2 separate regions of the Homo sapiens genome follow, and region 1 is linked to region 2. The links are contacts of gene promoters, found by promoter capture Hi-C in human tissues and cell types (Jung and others, 2019). All regions are on one chromosome and are shown on one strand. Each heading gives the region's core, a stretch centred on a gene start or on the middle of the fragment in contact. The rest is flanking DNA. Distances are from core to core; before and after follow the strand shown. Region 1 overlaps MIGA2 (mitoguardin 2). Region 2 holds the start of C9orf50 (chromosome 9 open reading frame 50).

Region 1 (5,889 bases), core at 675-3,174, 570 kb after region 2:
ATGGAAGCAACCCAAATATCTACCAACTGATGAACAAATAAACAAAATGTGGTCCATCTATACAACAGAAACAAAACAGTGATTCATGCTGCAACACAGATGAACCTTGGAAGCACTCTGCTATGTGAAAGGAGGCAGTCGCAAAAGGCCACATATTCTGTGATCCCATTTCTAGAAACGTCCGTGATAGGCAAATCCAGATGTAGAGAAAATAGATTTGTGGTTGCCTAGAGCTGGGGGGAAATGAAGGAATGTGAAGGGAATGGCCAAAGTACATGGGGTTTCTTTGTTGTTGTTTCTTTGTTGTTGTTGAGACAGGGTCTCACTCTATTGCAGAGGCTGGAATGCAGTGGCACAATCATGGCTTACTGCAGCCTTGACCTTCTGGGCTCAAGGGATCCTACTGCCTCAGCCTCCTGAGTAGCTGGGACTACCACATGGTGTGCGCCACCATGCCCAACTAACTTTTTAATTTTTTGCAGAGATGGGCTCTCACTATGCTGCCCAGGCTGGTCTTGAATTTCTGGGCTCAAGAAATTTTCCTCCACCTCGGCCTTCCAAAGCACTGGGATTACAGGTATGAGCCACCATGCTGGACCAGGGGTTTCTTATTGGGATAAAAATGCTCCAAAACTGATTGTGATAATAGATACACAATTTTGTGAATATACCAAAAGCTACTCAATTGTACAGTTTAGATGCTATGTGAATTATATCTTTTCTTTTTCTTTTTGTAGAGACAGGGTTGCCCAAGCTGGAGTGCAGTGGCACAATCATAGCTCACTGCAGCCTTGAACTCCTGGGCTCAGGTGATCCTCCCACCTCAGCCTCCCGAGTAGCTGGGACCACAGGAACATGCCATGACACCCAGCTAATTGGTCACGCCACTGCACTCCAGCCTGGGCAGCAGAGTAAGACCCCGTCTCAAGAAAAAATTTTTTTGAGACAGAGTCTCACTATGTTGCCCAGGTTGGTCTTGAACTTCTCCCTCACTGGCTCAAACAATCCTCCCACCTCAGCTTTCCAAAGTATTGGAATTACAAGTGTAAGCCACTGTGCCCAGCCTATATTTCAATAAAACTGTTTAAAAATTATAGCAATAGGCCAGGCGCAGTGGCTCATGCCTGTAATCTCAGCACGTTGCGAGGCCGAGGCGGGCGGATCACCTGAGGTCAGGAGATAGAAACCAGCCTGGCCAACATGGTGAAACTCCATCTCTACTAAAAATACAAAAAAAATTAGCCGGGCGTGGTGACACATGCCTGTAATCCAAACTACTCGGGAGGCTGAGGCAGGAGAATCGCTTGAACCTGGGAGACAGAAGTTGCAGTGAGCCAAGATTGCGCCACTGCACTCCAGCCTGGGCAACAAAAGCGAAACTCCGTCTCAAAAAAAAAAAAAATTATAGCAATAGACAGAAAAAAATGCCTGAAGGAATAGAAAGTGGTGATGCCTGGATGAAGGGCTGCAGGCACCCCTTGTAGGATTGTAAGGTTGTAGGCGTCCTGGCATGTAGATATGCCACAGATCATTAACTGAGCACCTACTATGGACCAGGCCTGAACAGCTGGTGCTGGCGCCCCCACAGAGCGCCAGTGCTCCAGGAGGCCGAGGGTGCCACACCACACAACCATGGGCTGTCTGATCAGAGTCTGGGATCAGACTATTTTACACCCCCTTCTCTTTCCTATTTCTGTACTTTTCATTATTTGATAAGGAATATGTAATTGCTTTCACAACAAGGAAAACAATGCAAATTCTATCATTTTCAGATATAGTTTTTAGCAAGAAATACAATTTGGGAAATAAAGCTACCTCCCTTGAGTCCCCCTCACCAACACACTCCTACAGGTGCCCGTTCCCTGCCGACTCGCAGACAGGACCTGACGCAGCTGCAACTGCAGGCACTCAAGGGTTTGAGTCACTTCAAACCTCAGGTATTTCCCTGACCTTCACATCCTGAGCTCACGCCCCAGCAGGGACAGAGAGCATGGACACCTTCAACTTGTTACCAGCTGTGCCAGACACAGCCCTCCCCTTGTTCTGCAACCTGTTTCCCAGGTCCCCCTGCCAGCTGGCTCTCGGCCAATGGGACACACGGGTAGAGGAATGAAGGCAAGGGTGAGGGAGGAATAGGCAGAGAAATCCTCCCTCCTCCTTCTACCTCCGCTGCCAAAAGTGGCCCCATCCCCTCAAATTCCTGGGCTCAACTGGTCCTCCTGCCTCGGCCTCCCAAAGTGCTGGGATTACAGGTGTGAGGCACCGTGCCTGGCCACAAAAATTTAAATTTTAGCCTTTTAACTTCATTTTCCTTTCCTGATATTGCAATAATAAATATTCACTGTAGGCTGGGTGTGGTGGCTCAAGCCTGTAATCCCAGCACTTTGGGAGGCCGAGGCGGGTGGATCACTTGAAGTTAGGAGTTCGAGACCACCCTGGCCAACATGGTAAAACCCCATCTCTACTAAAAATACAAAAATTAGCCGGGCGTGCTGGCAGGCACCTCTGACTCTGGCTTCTCAGGAGGCTGAGACAGAATCGCTTGAACCCAGGAGGTGGAGGCTGCAGTGAGCCAAGATCACGCCACTGCACTCCAGCCTGGAAAACAGAGTGAGGCCACACCTTAAAAATAAATAAATTACAGGCTGGGCGCGGTGGCTCACGCCTATAATCCCAGCACTTTGGGAGGCCGAGGCGGGCGGATCACGAGGTCAGGAGATCAAGCCCATCCTGGCTAACACAGTGAAACCCTGTCTCTGCTAAAAATACAAAAAAATTAGCTGGGCGTGGTGGTAGGCACCTGTAGTCCCAGCTACTCCAGAGGCTGAGGCAGGAGAGTGGCGTGAACCCAGGAGGCAGAGCTTGCAGTGAGTCGAGATCGCACCACTGGACACCAGCCTGGGCAACAGAGTGAGACTCCGTCTCTAATTAATTAATTAATTAATTAATTAATTACATCCTGGCTAACATGGTGAAACCCCGTCTCTACTAAAAAATACAAAAAATTAGCCGGGCATGGTGGCAGGCACCTGTAGTCCCAGCTACTGGGGAGGCTGAGGCAAGAGAATGGCGTAAACCTGGGAGGCAGAGCTTGCAGTGAGCCGAGATCACGCCACTGCACCTCCAGCCTGGGCGGCAGAGCAAGACTCCGTCTTAAAAAAAAATAATAAAATAATAAATAAATAAATAAATAAGCCAGGCACGGTGGCTCACGCCTGTAATCCCAGCACTTTGGGAGGCCAAGGCGGGCGGATCATGAGGTCAAGAGATGGAGATCATTCTGGCCAACATGGTGAAACCCCGTCTCTACTAAAAATACAAAAATTAGCTGGGCGTGGTGGTGCACACCTGTAATCCCAGCTACTTGGGAGGCTGAGGCAGGAGAATCTCTTGAACCCAGGAAGCGGAGGTTGCACTGAGCCGAGATCGCGCCACTGCACTCCAGCCTGGCAACAGAGTGAGACTCCGTCTCCAAAAAAAAAAATAAATAAATAAATAAATAAATAAATAAATAATTCACTGTTGAAAACTTGGATGTTGCCCAAAAAGTCCCCAAAAAAGTGTATTAAAGAAAAAAAAGCCCAGGCGCGGTAGCTCACGCCTGTAATCCCAGCACTTTGGGAGGCCGAGGCAGGCAGATCACCTGAGGTCAAGATCACCTGAGGTCAGGAGTTCGAGACCAGCCTGACCAATACGATGAAACCCCATCTCTACTAAAAATACAAAAATTAGCCACATGGGGTGGCATGCGCCTATAATCCCAGCTACTTGGGAGGCTGAGACAGAAGAATCGCTTAAACCCGGGAGGCGGAGGTTGCAGTGAGCCAAGATCGCACCATTGCACTCCAGCCTGGGCAACAAGAGCGAAACTCTGTCTCAAAGGAAAAAAAAAAAGAAAAAAAGGGTGCAGTGGCTCACACCTGTAATCTCACCACTTTGGGAAGCCAAGGCAGGCGGATCACGAGGTCAAGAGTTCAAGACCAGCCTGGCCAATGTGGTGAAACCCCGTCTCTACTAAAAACACAAAAAATTAGCTGGGTGTGGTGGCAGGCACCTGTAATCCCAGCTACTCAGGAGGCTGAGGCAGGAGAATCACTTGAACCCAGGAGGCGGAGGTTACGGAGAGCCAAGATTGCGCCACTGCACTCCAGCCAGAGTGACAGTGCAAGACTCCATTTCAAAAAAAAAAAAAAAACAGCTGGGTACGATGGCTCACGCCTGTAATCCCAGCACTTTGGGAGGCCAGGGAGGGTGGATCATGAGGTCAAGAGTTCAAGACCAGCCTGGCCAACATGGTGAAACCCTGTCTCTACTAAAAATACAAAAATTACCTGAATGTGGTGGCGGGCGCCTATAATCCCAGCTACGCAGGAGGCTGAGGCAGGAGAATCGCTTGAACCTGGCAGGTGAAGGTTGCAGTGAGCCAAGATTGCGCCACTGCACTCCAGCCTGGCAACAGAGCGAGACTCCATCTCAAAAACAAAACAAAACAAAACAAAACAAAGGCCAGGCAATGCAGCCAACCCTCAACAGAGGCGCCTTCCCTTCCAGCCTTTCAGGACCACACGTTGCCCTTCACAGGGTCGAGGCGGGTGTGAGTCTCAGTACGGCTGTTTTTACCAAGCGCCGGGCATTGTGCTGAGCACGTGACATGAATTGTTTTGTTTCACATCAAGACACCCTCATAGAGGGAAATCAGCAGTCTCAGAGGACAGGAGACTGCCTGCCTCCCAAGGTGTGGCCGCCCCTCTCCTGTGCTGCCAACTTTATCCCATGGGCGTAGGGGGATGCAGAAGACCACCTACCTCAGACAGTGGCTCTGATGCAGTCTCTGGGTTCCGGAGGCCGTCCCTGGGCATGGGGGTGCTGCCGCTGTCCCCCCGCTGGCCCACGCTTAGTGCCTGCTCCCACTTCTGCAGAGCTTCCTCAAACAGCTCCATGCCTGAGCACAGGTGAGGCGAAAAGCGTGGGTCAGCACCTCCACAGTCTCACCCAAGAGGGGGCTCAGAACATCAAGGAGGCAGGAGGGCCTTGAAGGGCAAGAACTGGGTGGGACCGTGTGGCCTGGGCTGCTCAGGTTCCAGGCCTTCTTTCAGACCAGGTTTGTTCCTAGACACTGTCCCTTGTTCAGAAATGGCTGGAAATCACCCAGTTGGGATTTGGGGCAGGGTAGTGAGGGGCAAAGTGACCCAAGACTGGCCAAGCTCCTAGGAAGGGACTGTTCCTGCCACCCACCCTGCCCTCGAAGCTGAGGCACCTCCTGGCCACACCTTGCATGTACAGGCTCTCTGCATTGCCGTCGCTGGTGGTCAGAGACTCCTCCATCCCTCTGGCATCCCATAGTCCCGAGCACGCGGCTGTGGGGCTGGATGAGTTCACTGCCATCATCTGGGCGCCAATCAGTGCAAGAAGAAAGAGTGAAGCTTTCCCGGGCTCTCTGCAGGGCCCCCCTGAGCCCTCCTCCACTGCCTGACCATGGGCCACACGCCCCCTCCAAATGCCATCCCTGAGCTTGTTCCTAGCCACAGCGTCCACACCCTCAGAATGGCCTGGACCCACAAACTGCCTGATGGTGCTTCATAGAAAGAAGCCACCAAAGCAGGAAGGAATCCTGAGACCAACACCCAGCCCAGGAACCTGGGAATCCCTCTGAGCCCTGCTCCTGACTGCTGTATCCATCCCCTATGCCGGGGCTCCTCTACCCCTTGAACAAGAAGACAGAGAGTACCCATTCTGTGCCAGGGTCCTGCCTCTCATCCACACGAGTGGCTGGCAGCCCCAGGACAAGAACCAGCTCTTGCTTGCCCCTGTGCCAGCCTGGCTCATAGCTGGGACTCTGCTTGCTGGATGAGTGAATGAACCAAAAGCCACACCCCAGAAGAAGCCAAG
Region 2 (5,490 bases), core at 2,491-4,990:
GCCTGGCCAACATGGCAAAACCCCGTCTCTACTAAAAATACAAAATTAGCCAGGGATGGTGGTGCATGCCTGTAGTCCCAGCTACTCTGAGGCTGAGGCAGGAGAATAGCCTGAACCTAGGAGGCAGAAGTTGCAATGAGCCTAGATCGCGCCATTGCTTTCCAGCCTGGGTGACAAGAACGAAACTCTGTCTCAAAAATAAAATAATAATAATACTATCCTGGTGTTCCTTCCTCTGGGCGACGCACACAGAAGGTGCTTAAAGTGTGTTTGCTCTAAATGTGTTGAAAGCTACGGTAGAAAGGGGATGCTAAAAAGCCCCTTCTGCATTGAGTCCGCAGGATGTGTGTATGTGCATCTTATTTGGCATACCCTCTAGACTATTCTAGGTCACAACTGCTACCCCTGGTCTGAGCCCCTCTCCCAAGCTTCATTTTCTGTGTCTTTAAGCAAAGGGATTGATCCTGGGCAATTTCAATCGGTGGGGGTGTCCGGAATCCTCCGCCAGGGGGCAGCTCTGATCCAAGCTCTCTGTATGCCTAAAAATCCAGCCCTGTCTTATTTCCTGTCAACAGAAGAGCAAGCCCCTTCCCCACAGCCACGCTCCAAGGCCTTCCCAGGACTGGCCGGCTCCCTGACCTCAAAGCCTCTGGCATCTCTGAATTCCCAAGCCTAGCACATAGTAGTTCCTTGATAAATATTTGCAGAGTGCAAGGGCTGGAGGGCTCCTTAGAAACCATCTAGTTAGGCCAGGCGCAGTGGCTCACGCCTGTAATCTCAGCACTTTGGGAGGCCGAGGCAGGTGGATCACAAGGGCAGGAGATCGAGACCATCCTGGCTAACACGGTGAAACCCCGTCTCTACTAAAAATACAAAAAAATTAGCCGGGCGTGGTGGTGGGCACCTGTAATCCCAGCTACTCGGGAGGCTGAGGCAGGAGAATGGGGTGAACCCAGGATGCGGAGCTTGCAGTGAGCTGAGATCGCGACTCCGTCTCCAAAAAAAAAAAAAAGAAAAGAAAAGAAAAAAAGAAACCGTCTAGTTAATCTGGTGTTTCGCAGCCATTAAAAAAGACACATACCCTTTAAATAAATACAAAAATATCTCCCTCCCCCACTCAATATTGTAGCTCTCCAGGAAAGTATGTCCCTCCATCCCTGGTGAGAAGCATTGACAGAAAATAGAATATATCTTTGGCGACGCGTTCTCTAGTGAGTCACTCTGTTATTTGAATTACAAAGTCGTTTCTTCATTTTCAAATTATGAAACTATGCCACGCCAGTGAAATACTCATGTAAATGACCTCTGTCTCCCACCCCAGCTTCACAATACTATGAGCTTCCTCTCGGCCCTCTCCCAGCCAAGACTCAGAGATAAGGCCCAGGGAGTCCTGAGAAAGAAGACACTTCTCCAGGATCACACAGCAAAACAGCAGACCATGGACTTGAAAGTGGGTCTGTTAATTTCTTTTCTTCCTTCCTTCCTTCCTTCCTTCTTTTTTTTTTTTTGAGATGGAATCTTGCTCTGTCGCCCAGGCTGGAGTGCAGTGGCGCGATCTCCGCTCACTGCAAGCTCCGCCTCCTGGGTTCACGCCATTCTCCTGCCTCAGCCTCCCGCGTAGCTGGGATTACAGGTACCCGTCACCACAACCAGCTAATTTTTTGTATTTTTAGTAGAGACAGGGTTTCACCGTGTTAGCCAGGATGGTCTCGATCTCCTGACCTCATGATCCACCCGCCTTGTCCTCTCAAAGTGCTGGGATTACAGGCGTGAGCCACCGTGCCCGGCTCTTTCTTTCTTTTTTTTTTTATGGAGATGGAGTCTCACTCTGTTGCCCAGGCTGGAGTGCAGTGGCGTGATCTCGGCTCACTGCAACCTCCGCCTCCCGGGTTCAAGCAATTCTCCTACCTCAGCCCCCCAAGTAGCTGGGACTACAGGCACACGCTGTCACGCCCGGCTAATTTTTTTGTATTTTAGTAGAGACGGGGTTTCACCATGTGGCCCAGGCTGATTGCGAACTCCTGAGCTCAGGCAATCCACCTGCCTCGGTCTCCCAAAGTGTTAGGATTACAGGTATGAGCCACTGGAACCTGGCCTCTTTTTTTTTTGTGAGACAGAGTCTCAAATGATCTGTGTAACGGATTAGAGTTGGAGATGTCAGCATGAGCTCATGTTTAGCTTAATATAAGTACAGATGGTTACCTATAGAAATATTTATAGATATGTGTGTGTTTCATAGTATACACACACATTTCTTTGTCAGCTGAGACTGCCTGAAAGAAATGACATCTCAATAGCAAGAAGCACACCTAGCACCCAGACCTTGGATTATTATTATTATTATTTTTGAGATGGAGTCTCGCTTTGTCACCCAGGCTGGAGTGCAGTGGCATGATCTCAGCTCACTGCAACCTCCGCCTCCCAGGGTCAAGCGATTCTCCTGTCTCAGCCTCCCAAGTAGCTGGGATTATAGGTGCACAACACCATGCATGGCAAATTTTGGTATTTTTTGTAGAGACGAGGTTTCACCATGTTGGCCAGGCTGGTATTGAACTTCTGACCTCAGGTGATCCGCCCGCCTCGGCCTCCCAAAGTGCTGGGATTACAGGCGTGAGACACCGTGCCCCGCAGGGTCTGTTCATTTCTAGGTCCATTGTATTCTGACTGCCTGGTCTTGGGGTGGAAGTTCTACTTCCAGAGCCACCCAGCCTAAGCCTCCCAGATCTGGAAAGGGTAGGCCTGGCTGCCCTGGTCAGAGTCCCAGTGCCCCAGGTGGCTGCGGCCAGGGCATCCAGGGCACAATAGCCCCACCCTTAGTCCCCAGGCCTCAGTGCCCACTGCTACTCAGATGCCCAGGGGTGAGGGGCGGATCACAATGACCCTGAAGCGGCCCAGAGGCAGCCGGGAGGGGCTGGGAGAGGCACCAGGCAGGGATGATGGGCTCTACAGCCTGCCTGTAGAGAGCTCTAAACTCACAGGACCTTCTAGGGCCCCACCCAGAAGCCCACCAGGGTGAGTGTGACACTGCCCAGGAGTCAGCTCAGAGCTGACAACAATCTGGGAGTGGGGTGTGGTTGGGAGGAAGCAGGCTTAGAAACCCCTCAGTGTCAGAGCTGGGAGTAAGACTGGGGCTCTGCCTCCCAAAGGGGGAGTTTGTTAAAAGTCTGTGTCTTGGCCAGAAGTGGGGACTCACGCCTGTGATCCCAGCACTTTGGGAGGCCAAGGCAAGTGGATCACTTGAGCCCAGGAGTTCAAGACCAGCCCGTGCAACATAAATACAAAAAAATTCTACCCCATTTCTACAAAATATACAAAAATTAGCCAACTGTGGTGGTGTGTGCCTGTAGTCCCAGCTACTCAGGAGGCTGAGGCAGGAGGATCACTTGAGCCCAAGAATTTGAGGCTGCAGTGAGCTATGATGGTGCCATTGCACTCCAGCCTGGGTGACAGCAGGACCCCGTCTTAGCAAGACCCCATCTCTTTAACAACAACAACAAGAACAACAAACTGTCTTGGCTCCAGCAGAGACGTACTGAATCAGAATGGGGGCTGGGGGTAAGTCATCTGTATTTTCAACAGGCTCCCCACCCAGGGGTCTCTGAGGCAGCACCAGGGCTGGGAGGCTGCTGGTCAGGTCTCTCTTCCCTCAAGCTGGTTCCAGGTTTCCTAATTCCCAGTAGAGCGCTAATGACGGTAACAGTTCCACGCTTTGAACACTGCAAGGCAGGCTAAGTGCTCTCTCTACCAGCGGTGATGCGGTGATGCCGTTTCACGGCTGCAGAGAGGCAGGTGCTGCTATTATCCCCATTCTGCAGACCAGAGCCCCCAGGGAAGGCAGAGGGAAGTTAATTGGCTTGGCCAAGGTTACAAAGCTAATAAGTGGTGGAGCTGGGACTAAATCCTAAATAATAATAACTTTGAAATACTAAGAATGGCAGCTAGTCTATGTGTAAGCTTGGCCAGCGTGCCTGGCACTGTACCGAGCTTGCTGTTCTAAGACTGGCATGTACTTGCTCATTTAAACGTCACAGCAACCCCCAAAGTTGGCTACTCTTGCTGTCACCATTTTTCAGGTGAGGAAACAGAGGCTCTGGGAGCTCTCGCCTGAAGCCACTCGCTGTCCGCCGGGCCGGTGGCGTTCACCCCGCACCGCGCTGCCCCGCCCGGGGCACTATGGCCTGGGGCTGGACTATGCCCTCCCCACCTCAGCCGGCGCCCCCCACCCACGCGCGCTGAGGGTGCGGTGAGCTGAGTGCGGGGCCAAGCATGTTCTGGCGTCGACTTCGCCCAGGGGCCCAGGACCTGGCGCCCAAGGGGCTCCCTGGCGACGGAGACTTCCGACGCAGCAGCGACCCGCGGCTGCCCAAGCTGACCCCGCCCGCGCTCCGAGCGGCTCTGGGCGCGCGGGGCTCCGGGGACTGGAGGATCCCGGGGGGCGGCGCCGCGTGGTGGCCGGAAGGGGACGCCAAGCCCGGGGTGGGCGTCGGACGCCTCCCGCCGCGCCTGCCCGCCTTGCTCACCGCGACCCGGCGGGCCGTGCGGAAGCGGGGGCTGCTGCGGTCCCTGCTGCCGCCTCCCCTGCTGTCGGCCGGCGCGTCCCGGGAATCGGCGCCCAGGCAGCCAGGGCCTGGAGAGCGCGAGCGCCCCCGGAGGCGCGTGGCCAGGGAGGACCCCGACTTCTTGGGCGCCTTCCTAGGAGAGCTCCTCCCCAGCAGGTTCCGTGAGTTCCTGCACCAGCTCCAGGAGAAGTGCGCCGAGGAGCCGGAGCCACTGAGTGAGGCCCCGCGGGGCCCGGGGGGCGGGCCCGAGTCATTTCCGGTGGGGGGTGGTCCCTTGTGTCCCCGCACCCACCACCCCACCACCCAGGCTAGAAGGATGCTAATGTTAGCTGAGTATCTCAGAGCCCTCGCAACCCGTCCTTGAGGGCTGGTCTGCCATCACCCCGAGGCCACATGACTAGAAAGGACCGTCCCCCAGCCAAGGCTCACAACTGTTTCCTCCTGGCTCCAGCATCCCCAGCACCGCAACATCAAAGGGGTGTATTAGAGCACTGCCCAGGGTCTCCGCGGTGTCCCAACTGTTCATTCCTCCCAGACCTGTGGTAAGCGTCAGTCCGCTTCTTGGTGGGGACGGGGTTGCCATCGATGTTTCCAGGGCGGGACAGCCTGGCCACTCATGCCAGATGTGGCCTGTTTGTCTTTAAGGGGCCAGTCATCGCACCTCCAGGATAGTCTTACGAAGATTTCGCTCCAGCAGACACCTATTCTGGGGCCCCTGAAGGGTGATCACTCACAATTCACCACTGTCAGAAAGGCCAACCAGTGAGTGATGGGCGGGATAAGGGTAGGGTAGTGGAGGAAAGGGGCATTTCTTTCCTTCTTTCTTTCCTCTTTCGCCCATGAATGTATTCATTTATCCACCTATCTACCCATTCATCCATCCTTACATATGGCTGTCCGTGAATCAGATCTTCTACCAACCCATTCAAGA

The links. Contacts are between HindIII fragments. The study calls those that stand out against the background at their distance.
Region 1: a contact is called between a fragment that was not itself captured here and the fragment with the promoter of C9orf50 in region 2, in 1 of the 25 tissues and cell types used here (spleen).

What each region holds. Positions count from the first base shown.
Region 1 is chr9:129,048,880-129,054,768 of GRCh38, reverse strand. It overlaps MIGA2 (mitoguardin 2), which reads right to left. Exons shown (of 16, transcript NM_001329990.2): 5 at 5,271-5,388; 6 at 4,806-4,942. Among named protein-coding and RNA genes, the nearest start is that of MIGA2, 15 kb to the right of the region's middle. The HindIII fragment of the contact is 8,197 bases long and covers 1-5,889 here.
Region 2 is chr9:129,619,351-129,624,840 of GRCh38, reverse strand. It overlaps C9orf50 (chromosome 9 open reading frame 50), which reads left to right and starts at 3,740. Exons shown (of 7, transcript NM_199350.4): 1 at 3,740-4,774; 2 at 5,011-5,101; 3 at 5,205-5,321. The coding sequence starts at 4,267. It also overlaps a transcript of NTMT1 not described here. RefSeq lists enhancers at 558-607, 618-757, 3,628-4,278. The HindIII fragment of the contact is 8,954 bases long and covers 2,192-5,490 here.